Regions from separate parts of the Homo sapiens genome. Here all the other regions are linked to region 3. The links are contacts of gene promoters, found by promoter capture Hi-C in human tissues and cell types (Jung and others, 2019). All regions are on one chromosome and are shown on one strand. Each heading gives the region's core, a stretch centred on a gene start or on the middle of the fragment in contact. The rest is flanking DNA. Distances are from core to core; before and after follow the strand shown. Region 1 overlaps WASF1 (WASP family member 1). Region 2 overlaps WASF1 (WASP family member 1). Region 3 holds the start of METTL24 (methyltransferase like 24).

Region 1 (3,631 bases), core at 836-3,335, 240 kb after region 3:
AAAGAACATCTTTATTTCTGCCTTCATTTTGTTATTTACCCATTAGTCATTCAGGAGCAGGTTGTTCAGTTTCCATGTAGTTGTGCGGTTTTGAGTGAGTTTCTTAATCCTGAGTTCTAATTCAATTGCACTGTGATCTGAGGGACAGTTCGTTGTGATTTCTGTTCTTTTACATTTGCTGAGGAGTGTTTTACTACAATTATGTGGTCAGTTTTAAAATAAGTGTGATGTGATGCTGAGAAGAATGTATATTCTATTGATTTGGGGTGTGGAGTTCTGTAGATGTCTATTAGGTCTGCTTGGTCCAGAGCTGAGTTCAAGTCCTGGATATCTTTGTTAACCTTCTGTCTCTTTGATGTGTCTAATATTGACAGTGGGGTGTTAAAGTCTCCCGTTATTATTGTGCAGAAGTCTAAGTTTCTTTGTAGGTCTCTAAGGACTTGCTTTATGAATCTGGGTGTTCCTGTATTGGGTGCATATATATTTAGGATAGTCAGCTCTTCTTGTTGAATTGATCCCTTTACCATTATGTAGTAGCTGCCTTTGTCTCTTTTGATCTTTGTTGGTTTAAAGTCTGTTTTATCAGAGACTAGGATTGCAAACCCTGCTTTTTTTTTTTTTTTTTTTTTTTTTTTTTTTGCTTTCCGTTTGCTTGGTAGATCTTCCTCTTTCCCTTTATTTGGAGCCTATGTGCATCTTTGCATGTGAGCATGTGAGATGGGTTTCCTGAATACAGCACACTGATGGGTCTTGACTCTTTATCCAATTTGCCAGTCTGTGTCTTTTAATTGGAGCATTTAGCCCATTTACATTTAAGGTTAATATTGTTATGTTTTATTTTGATCCTGTCATTATCATGTTAGCTGGTTATTTTGCCTGTTAATTGATGCAGTTTCTTCCTAGCATCGATGTTCTTTACCATTTGGCATGTTTTGCAGTGGCTGGTACCGGTTGTTGCTTTCCATGTTTAGTGCTTCCTTCAGGAGTTCTTGTAAGGCAGGCCTTGTGGTGACAAAATCTCTCAGCATTTGCTTGTCTGTAAAGGATTTTATTTCTCCTTGGCTTATGAAGCTTAGTTTGGCTGGATATGAGATTCTGGGTTGAAAATTCTTTTCTTTAAGAATGTTGAATATTGGCCCCCACTCTCTTCTGGCTTGTAGGGTTTCTGCCGAGAGATCCGCTGTTAGTCTGATGGGCTTCCCTTTGTAGGTAACCCGACCTTTCTCTGTGGCTGCCCTTAACATTTTTTCCTTCATTTCAACCTTGGTGAATCTGACAATTATGTGTCTTGGGGTTGCTCTTCTTGAGGAATATCTTTGTGGTGTTATCTGTATTTCCTGAATTTGAATGCTGGCCTTCCTTGCTAGGTTAGGGAAGTTCTCCTAGATAATATCCTGACGAATGTTTTCTAACTTGGTTCCATTTTCCCCATCACTTTCTGGTACACCAGTCAAACATATATTTGGCCTTTTCATATAGTCCTATATTTCTTGGAGGCTTTGTTTGTTTCTTTTCACTCTTTTTTTATCTGATCTTTTCTTCTCGTTTTATTTCATTAATTTGATCTTCAATCACTGATATTCTTTCTTCCACTTGATCAAATCAGCTATTGAAGCTTGTGCATGCGTCACAAAGTTTTTGTGCCATGGTTTTCAGCTCCATCAGGTCATTTAAGGTCTTCTCTACATTTTATTCTAGTTAGCCATTTATCTAAGCTTTTTTCAAGGTTTTTAGCTTCCTTGCAATTGGTTAGAACATGCTCCTTTAGCTCAGAGAAGTTTGTTATTACCAACCTTGTGAAGCCTACTTCTATCAACTCATCAAACTCATTTTCCATCCAGTTTTTTTCCCTTGCTGGCAAGGAGCTGCAATCCTTTGGACGAGAAGAGGCGCTTTGTTTTTTTTTTCGAATTTTCAGCTTTTCTGCTCTGGTTTCTCCCCATCTTTGTGGTTTTATCTACCTTTGGTCTTCGATGTTGGTGACCTACAGAGGGGGTTTTGGTGTGGATGTCCCTTCTGTTTGTTAGTTTTCCTTCTAACAGTCAGACCCCTCAGCTACAGGTCTGTTGGAGTTTGCTTGAGGTCCACTCCAGACCCTGTTTGCCTGGGTATCACCACCAGAGGCTGCAGAACAGCAAATATTGCTGCCTGATCCTTCCTCTGGAAGCTTCATCCCAGAGGGGCACCCACCTGTTTGAGGTGTCTGTTGGCCCCTACTGGGAGGTGTTCCCCAGTCAGGCTACACGGGGGTCAGGGACCCACTTGAGGAGGCAGTCTGTCCGTTCTCGGAGTTCAGACGCTGTGCTGAGAGAACCACTGCTCTCTTCAGAGCTGTCAGACAAGGATGTTTAAGTCTGCAGAAGCTGTCTGCTGCTTTTTGTTCTACTACGTCCTTCCCCAAGAGGTGGAATTTATAGAGGGAATAGACCTTACTGAGCAGTTCAAGCTTACCGGCCTCTTTGTTTACACTTTGAGCTACTCAAGCCTCAGCAATGGTGGACACCCCTCCCCCGTCAAGCTGCAGCGTCACAGGTTGATCTCAGACTGCCGCACTAGCAGTGATCAAGGCTCTGTGGGCGTGGGACCCGCCGAGCCAGGCATGGGAGGGTATCTCCTGGTCTGCTGGTTGCTAAGACTGTGGGAAAAGCATATAGTATTTGATCAGGAGTGTACTGTTTCTCCAGGTAGAGTCTGTCACAGCTTCCCTTGGCTAGGAAAGGGAAATCCCCTGACCCCTTGTACTTCCTGGGTGAGGCAATGCCTCGCCCTGCTTCAGCTTGCCCTCTGTGGGCTGCACCCACTGTCCAACCAGTCCTAATGAGATGAACCAGGTACCTCAGTTGGAAATGCAGAAATCACCCGTCTTCTGCATCAGTTTCGCTGGGAGCTGCAGACCGGAGCTGTTCCTATTCAGCCGTCTTGGAAGTGACCCCCTCTTCTATGTCTTCTTTCTCATTGTCTGGTACTGGTTTGGAGGCACTCTTCTCCATCAAGTCATCTTCTGTTAATTCCTCTGGTGTGCTGTCTAATTGGGTTTTGAATTTCTCCAAGATCCATACCTTGCCACGCTTCATCCCCACCCTTTTTTCTGTATCCACTGTCTATTTCATTATTTCCTTGACTGGCACTGTTAAAAACCCTGTGAGGTCATGCAAAACATCTGGACACAGTTTTCTCAAATTTTATGAATTTGTTTTCTTGAGCTTGATGGTTTTCTTGGCTTTTTCAATAATAACTATGACATCTTTGATGGTATAATCCCTCCAAACTTTCATGATGTTCTCTGTTGGGATTCTCTTCCATAGTGTTGACAGTCTTCCACAGAATACCATGTGTAATGAGTCTTAAATGTCCTTATGATCTAGAGCCTGAATTAGAGCTGTCATGTTTGCGGGCAAGTGGACCACTTTGACACCTTCAGTGTGAAACTAATGGGGTTCTGAGTGGCCAGAGATGTTGTACAGTTATCACAAGAATTTTAAAAGACATTCCCTTACTGGCAAGGTACTTCCTGACTTCAGGGACAAAGCGTCAATGGGACCAATCCAGAAAAAGGATTCTCATTGTCCATGCCTTCTTGTTGTCTTGCCTTCTTCTTTTGGCCTTCTTTTTCCTTCAAGGTTTGAGGTTA
Region 2 (3,780 bases), core at 1,000-3,499, 180 kb after region 3:
TGATTCTTTGTGACTTACGTTTTCTAGTGAAATAGTAATAAAAAAGATATATGTAAATTAAATCCTATGCTGAATGCTTGAGTACCTAGTTGTTAAAAATAAATGACCCCTGAAGTGGAACTTTTTATAAAATTAAGAATCTTGTGTTTTAAGTTTATCACATTCAGCTTATAATTTTGAGTCTTTGTGAATTGGTAGTTCTAACTTACTACACAATTGATTACATTTTACAACTTGTAAAATGGTTTGGAACTTGAGTCTTATTTTCTCAGAAACAGTATACTTAGTGGTTAGAGTCACAGACAGCCCACTAAAGCCTATTTAAATAATAAAATACCTGAATTATAGGATTATGTTAATACTAAAGAAATTATAAAATTATGTTAATAATTAGCATAAGTATATTAAAATACCTATAATAATTTGTATGACAGTCTTTCTATGGGAAAAATAAGTTTCAGATGTACCCTGAAATGCTAGGATCTGTAACTCTTGTGTTAGACATGACAACATTATTAGGAACTTGTTCTCTTTCACCCAGTGGACTTGAAGAGGAGGCTGTTTCTCAGTTCAGTGAGTGGCATAGGCTTACATTATCTGGGACAAGAAGTTAGGGCATGACAAAAATTAGAAGGAAATGCAGTCTTCTGCGTGACTTTACTTCTCAAGATGTTTGATTATAAAATGAAAAGGTAGAAGTAGATGACTTCGGAGATCTGTTTTAGCTACAAATAAAATTCTAAGATACTTCGAAGCTTGGTGTAACCCCCTTTTTTTCCTGAGAGTTCATTTTCCCTAAAGTTACCGCTTACGTCCCTCTTATGAGGACATTTCTTCTTTCTGGACCTACCTCTGAAAAAGAAAGTAGTCTTGATCCTTTCACACGTGCCTGTTCTCAGAAGCAAGATTTTTTAGTCTCTTAAAGGCGTTATTTTTGTGATGGGTTTTTTGTTTGTTTTAATTTTTAAAAATAAACTCCCAGCACTGTCAAGAAACAGGATTTTTCTTTTGGATTGTTTCCTTTGTTTCCTTATTTTGAGCTATTGGTAAAGTCAGGGTAGATTTTATTCATACTTTGAAGAAAGATCATATCCAGTCAGTCTCCATAGAATTTTTTTAAGGAAAAAATTTTGGAATGAGGTCATGAAGTGGGAGTATGAAGATATAAAGATGGATTATTGCCCCATAAAATACGGGGCATCTTGTATTTGTAGCAGCCTTACCTGGGGTGCTATGGAGCTTTGGTATGGATGTGATGGAGCTGAAGGCAGATTGAGAAAGTGAATCTGTGAACTCCTTGAGGACAGTTTTGTTGTAAGCGTTTGGTTGTTTTGTTTTGCTTTGCTTCATTTTTGTGTTCCCAGTGCCTGTTTTTGGTTTAAGCTAAATGGATTTTGAGTGTATGCAATTACTACAGAATAAAAGAGAAGTCATTCTGTTCCATGTGGAAAGATCAGGGTGCTGTGAGGGAAGAGGTCATGAAACAGCTATTTTTGTCATATGCATTGGAGTATTTAATAATTATTTGGAGATCAGTGATATTCAAAAATAATGTGTAACATGGTCCAAAAGGAAAAGAAGTGACATTGCTTGCTTGCTAGATGTACAAGATTCTGTATAGATGCTGTCACATTTATTATTTATCTTGTTTAATTGCTATCATAGCCCTATAAGGATTTAATTGAAGAAAAAGGTTAACTGAATTGAACAAGTTGTTTGTTCTGCCTAGCGGAAGCCCAGATTGTTTCAGAACTGCTTTATCTCCCCTTTTACTGATAAGTTTCTGTTGGAGCAGTCATTTTAATAACTTGATAATAACAATTCTGCCTGCCTGCTACTGTCCCCTCATTTGTAATTGGTTCATTTAGTGGGTCCCCCTTGTTAAACCAGTGATTCATAGTTCATAATCAGCACATAATTATTGAGGGCCAAGTAGGTGCTAAAAAGGACAGGTCTCTATTCTCTTGGAGTTAACAGTATAGTAAAAAACAGGTGTTGAACAAATACATTTGTACTTAGAAATTTTGGTGAATGCTGTAAAGGAAAAGAAGAGGGAACTGGATTTACACTGGGAGTCAGGGGAGGCTTCTTAGAGGCAAGATTAGTGGAAGTTAGCTAGGTGGAAAAGGAAGAGAATTCAAAGAACAGGTGAAACAGTTAAAGCTTAGTGTAAGAGGGATTGTGACTTGATATGAGGTTGCAGAGGTAAACAGAAGCCAGACTATGCAGAGGGCCTACGTGAGGTTTGGTTTAACGAGGTTAAGGATTTTAAGTCTATTGGGGAAGGCCATGAAGAGTTTTAATCGGGTTAATTACTGGATCAGATCTGTCTTTTGTAAAGATCACTTTGGCTTGGAAGGGGCCAGAGATACCAATCACAATTCTGTTCATTTCTGTGGTTTATTGGCCTGGTTTTAGACACTTTTTTACTAAGCCAAGTCACTCAGAACTTTTCCTGGGTCCTCCATGCCCAGAGGTTGAATAATTTGTTTTCTCTTCAGTTGCTGAAGCTGTGAGATACAAAACTCTGGAACTGTTAATGGCCTTGTTTCTTGCCCTGTGGGCTAGATAAGCCAGGGCTTCTAGAACAAAGAGTGCAAAGAAGCAGATGCACAGAGTCCTGACTGTATTTGAGTTCCTTTGTCCATGGTCCTGAGATTGGGTTCCAGAGACATCCTAGTTACCTTTGTCATAAGTCCTCCTTTTTGCGTAAACTGTTAGAATTGTATTTGTGGTACTTGTCAACCAGCAAACTGAGTCCTCTCATAGATCAAGTAATTTGCTCAAGGTCACATGGCTAATAGAAATGGAGGTGGAATTTGAGCACAGATATGTGTGATTTCAAAGTCCCATTTTTTTCCTACTCCCTTATGCTGCAAAGGTACCATTTCTTAAACTAAAGGTCCTAAAGAAATTCTAAGTAGGTGGGTTTTGGGTGTGATGACATCTGTTGGATGATGATGACAGCAAAGTTTTTTTGTTTTTTTGTTTTTTTAATTTGGTGTGCTTGATAGTAGTTAGTCCAGCATGTAGCCATTCTTTATTCCTAACCTAGCCAGGTCTACTCCAATAAAGTTACATTGACTAACTTATTTGAAAAGAAGAAAAGCTTATGTGTCAGGGCATGGAATAACTTGTTTGATTCCTTTACCAAAAAAGTCAAGTGTGTTATGTTTTCACCTTATGCTACAAAAGTAAGTTTGTTTTCTAGTTGTTTTAATAGGGACATCTTGCTAAATTTGTTAAATTTGCTAAATTTTTATAACATGCATGTGCTACAGGTTATGCCAGAGAATTGTGAAAGGGTTAAACGAAAAGGGAGGAACAGTGAAGCATTTTATATTTTAGTCGAGGATGAAGACTAGCACTCACTTCTTAAAATTATTTTTATAGATTTAGAGGGTACACGTACAGTTTAGTTACATGGATATATTGCATAGTGGCAAAGCCTGGCTTTTTAGTATAGTGTACATTGTACCCATTAAGTAATTTCTCACCCCTCACCCACCATCTATCCTTCCACTCTTCAGAGTCTCCATTATCTATTATTCCACTCTTTATGTCCATGTATACAAATTATTTAGCTCCCACTTATAAATGAGAAAATATGGTATTTGACTTTCTGTTTCTGAGTTAGTTCACTTAGGATAATGGCCTCTGGTTCCATCCATGTTGCTGCAAAAGAGATTATTTCATTCTTTTTAATGGCTGAGTAGTATTTCATTGTTTGCATTTAAATTTTCTTTAATTATCCATTGATGGACACTTAGGTTGATTCCA
Region 3 (3,660 bases), core at 881-3,380:
GGAAAATATGAGGTCATCCTGCCCATTCTCTTCAAGAGCTACACTGTTTTGTATGCACCCCCACTCCATCCTCCACCCCCAGCCCAGAGTCTTATTAAATATCCCCATTTTAATAATATAGGAGAGTGCTTATGCTTCCCCACCCACCCCCAGAGAGAAACTCAACAGAGGAGCAGAGGGTACGCACTAGTGGCACCATGATCTTCAAAATATGACTTCTCTAGTTAGCGGCACTGTGTTGACTGCATAGAAAATAAAACTTCCAGCAAAGTCTACATCAGACATTACCAATCCAGGTTTATCAAGCACCCTACAAACTCTGTCTTAAAGAGCCTTATACAACTTAACAGAGTTCGTTTCTTGATGATTAATTGTTATTTTCTTGAAATTATTGGGTACTCTGAATTCCAGAGAATGCTGTATAAATTATTTGTAAATTTCCTTATACTTTATCTTTGCCCACTTTGGAATCAATGCTTACCTTTTGTTTTTCATGACAACATCCAGGATTTTCTTCCATGGTAAATAACAAAATAATTACTATTGAGACCCTTCTGTGAGCCAGTATTATTTGGGCATGAAACATATAATATTTTATGCAACATTTATAATCCTGCCATATATATAGATCTGTTTATTCATGGGAAAACGGAAACTCAGAGAGGTCCAGTACTTCGTTGAAAGTCTCATAGTGCTTGAACGGCAGGGTCCTGGTTCAAACACAGTTCAAGTAAATAGTCACAGGATGTGAGGCTGGCTCTCAGTTTGTGTAAGGAAAAACTCGTACTTGTTTAAATTTGTTAAAATAGAACCCATCTGCAATATCCCCTGGACTCATCTAAGAAAAAAGCAAAAGTCAATCCTAATGGAACGTTCAGGAGCCTGAGGATCTGGTGTGGCCAGGGGGTGGACTAGACTGGGTGGAGATATTTTGTTACATGTAGAGAAACAGCCCAAGTGCTTTGTTCACTAGCAGGGAATAAATTGGGTCTTTCTTAAGCCAGGAAGAGAAGAGGATTTTAGAGACGAGGGCTTCCTACGGAAAATACCCAACATTCAAAAGGGCAGGGGGGTAGGGCCCCATATTTGTTCTCTCTTGTCCATGCTGTAGGCTGTTACGGGGGAAGAGGATAGGTCTACAGGCGCAGTCTCCCATGGAAGCATGGAAAATGCAAGAGTAAAGCAAGGAAAAAAAGAAAAGTGACTACAGCTTAAAAAAATCTAAACCCAAACTCAAACCTAAAACCCAAACCCACCCCAAATGGGTTGTGGGAAAGGATTCTACTAACAATTGAAAATGGAACATCCACCACTGGACTTCAGGCTGTGAGAGTTCAGTCTGATTAATTAAGGTCAAGGTGGTGATGGAAATACCAGCTGGGGAGCATTTTGCCGAAAGATAAATTTGTCCCTCTGTATTTCTGCGAGACAGCAGGGAGGTGTGTGTTTGGAGCTAAATTAATTTGATTTACATCATGCCATGGTAACTTCTGTTCTCTCTCCCCCCTCCTCACCAACCCGCTGTCAGATGTCTTAGCTGGCTTTTTCCCTCTTCTTCTTCACCCCCACACATTTCATAACACGGAAAGAAAGCACGAATTGGCTTCAGGCAGAATTTAGACATAGAATAACTCTAATTTGATTATTCTGCATTGAGTGCTATTCTCTTCGCCCCCCAATCCCTTTCTTTCTTGAGAGAGAGAGAGAAGTTGTAAGCCCGGGCATAAGTGCTATTTATTTTTATATTGTGCTTAATGGTGCAAACTGCTTGACTGTTCCTTGTATGCTCACCTACCCTCCTCCTGTGTTTCTCCAACAACACTAATACCAGAAAATGAAGTTATGGCCCGGGATCCCGTTAGGAATGCGCTTTTTCTGGCCCTATGTCTTTCAGCTCCGTCAGGCTTTGGAGGCCGGGGCGGAGGGCACCTCTTGAGGGACCCTGTACAGCCGGGCCCTGGCACCTCCGGAGGGGCGGAGAGGGCCCCCTGTGACCGCGTTCGGCCCACCACCGTTCCAGCGGCGGGGCGCGCTCGGCAGGGCAGGATAAGGTTACGCCGGGGCTTCCTCGGTCGGGAGGGAGGGAGGCGGGTCCGAGCCCGCACCCCGGCCCGCGGGGGAGTTCCCACAGTTGGCCGCTCCGGCCTGTGGGGCTACATCCCTGCTGCCGGCCAGGCGCGGCCCGCGGGACCCCGAGTGTAGCGCCATGGCCCGGGAGAGGCCGCCCGGGAGGGGCTGCGGCGTCCTGCGCCGGTGTCTACTCGGGGCTGTGCTGTTGTTCGGCCTGCGGCTCTGCGCAGAGCTGCGGCGCGCCGGGCCCGGGTCCCCCACCCGCAGCGCCCCGCCGGGCCCGGCCTGGCGGCCACCTGGGCCGCACCTGCCGCCCGCGCCGGGCCAGCCGCGCGGCGCCAGCAGGAGGCAGGTGACCTACGTGCGCAGCGGTCGCCGGGCGCCGCCGGGGGGCGGCGGGAGCGGGACGCCGGAGCCTGGCTGCTGTGCCCCGCGCGGGCGCCCCCGCCGGAAGGTCAGTTGCAAAGCGGTCGGTCTTGGGCCTGGGACCAGAAGCCCCCTCCCGACCGCGCTACGGAGCCCGGCGCTCAGGTCCCGCAGGCCGCCTCGATGGGACCTCCGGAGGCTTCCGCTTCTTCTCTTCCCCCTGTGCTCTCTTAGGCGGCTCCACGGGTCGCATCTTTCAGTGCCCAGATAGACTGAAGTGCGGCCAAGCGGAGTTCATTCACTATTCAGCCAGTACTTGGGGGTCGCCGTGGCCGGGCGCCCTTCTAGGCTCCGCGCATCCCGTGAAGAAGGACGGAGCCCTGTTCTCACGGAGGATACACTTTAGTAGGGGAGTGTTTGCGTGATAGGCAGGGAAAGGGAAAGGGAAAGGAAGGCGTTGTGGCTGCCATTGATGTGCTGTGCTGCTCCCAGCCTTCTGCTTAAGGCCTGGACAGAGTTGGGTGGGTATCGCCGTGAATGGCCTGTCCACGCCACTGCCTTCATCTCGCTGAAGATCCACCAGCTGGCCGAATTTCCCTGGAGTCTCATTCCAGGCGTTGGCTGGGGGCTGGGAGGCTGGCGCCAGTTGAGAAGCCGAGCACCCAGCCCCACTTAATGAGAAGTTAATTGGATCCTCGAGGACCCAAGTAATAACCTGGGTTTGTCTTATAACTCTCGACCGTGTTGTGCCTCCTACCTCATTAACTTCTTGGCTTACACCTCACTGATTAGTCCATTTTTAGCCTCTGATTGTTAAGGTTTTGGGCTCATCTCCTTTTTGGAGCTCGGTAATTTGCGTCGTACATGGAAATGAAAAGAACTACAGGTATGAGCTCTCCTCATCCTTTTACCCATCAACTCCTGCTTCCAGCCTCAACCACGTTCTCCAAAGCAACTACTTTCCGTTGCCCGGCTGTTCCTCGTTTCTTTTAGACATCCACCCCAACCTCCACCCCGCTTCCCATCACCGGTCCTGGAGGGGAGGGAACAACTCTTCCTTTGCCTCGCTGCTGTCTTCGGCTGCCCAGTGCTAGCCTACTTTTCAGCACCACAACCCAGCACTCCTGCCGGGCTTCACTTCCTCGCTTCCTTCGGGCCTCGCCCTCCGTTTTTCCACACCACTGCTGTTCCTTGCTGGGCCATCGTGCTAACTTCCTGGATAAA

Evidence for each region. Contacts are between HindIII fragments. The study calls those that stand out against the background at their distance.
Region 1: a fragment that was not itself captured here is called in contact with the fragment with the promoter of METTL24 in region 3 in 2 of the 25 tissues and cell types used here (dorsolateral prefrontal cortex and hippocampus).
Region 2: a contact is called between a fragment that was not itself captured here and the fragment with the promoter of METTL24 in region 3, in 3 of the 25 tissues and cell types used here (H1 embryonic stem cells, dorsolateral prefrontal cortex and thymus).

Annotation. Positions count from the first base shown.
Region 1 is chr6:110,115,356-110,118,986 of GRCh38, reverse strand. All of the region lies in intron 4 of WASF1 (WASP family member 1), which reads left to right. Among named protein-coding and RNA genes, the nearest start is that of WASF1, 62 kb to the left of the region's middle. RefSeq lists enhancers at 1,952-2,495, 2,496-3,041. The HindIII fragment of the contact is 3,943 bases long and covers 114-3,631 here.
Region 2 is chr6:110,172,527-110,176,306 of GRCh38, reverse strand. The region is part of intron 2 of WASF1 (WASP family member 1); the gene reads left to right. Among named protein-coding and RNA genes, the nearest start is that of WASF1, 5.3 kb to the left of the region's middle. The HindIII fragment of the contact is 5,240 bases long and covers 1-3,780 here.
Region 3 is chr6:110,356,819-110,360,478 of GRCh38, reverse strand. METTL24 (methyltransferase like 24) reads left to right here and starts at 2,130. Exons shown (of 5, transcript NM_001123364.3): 1 at 2,130-2,524. The coding sequence starts at 2,207. The HindIII fragment of the contact is 11,777 bases long and covers 1-3,660 here.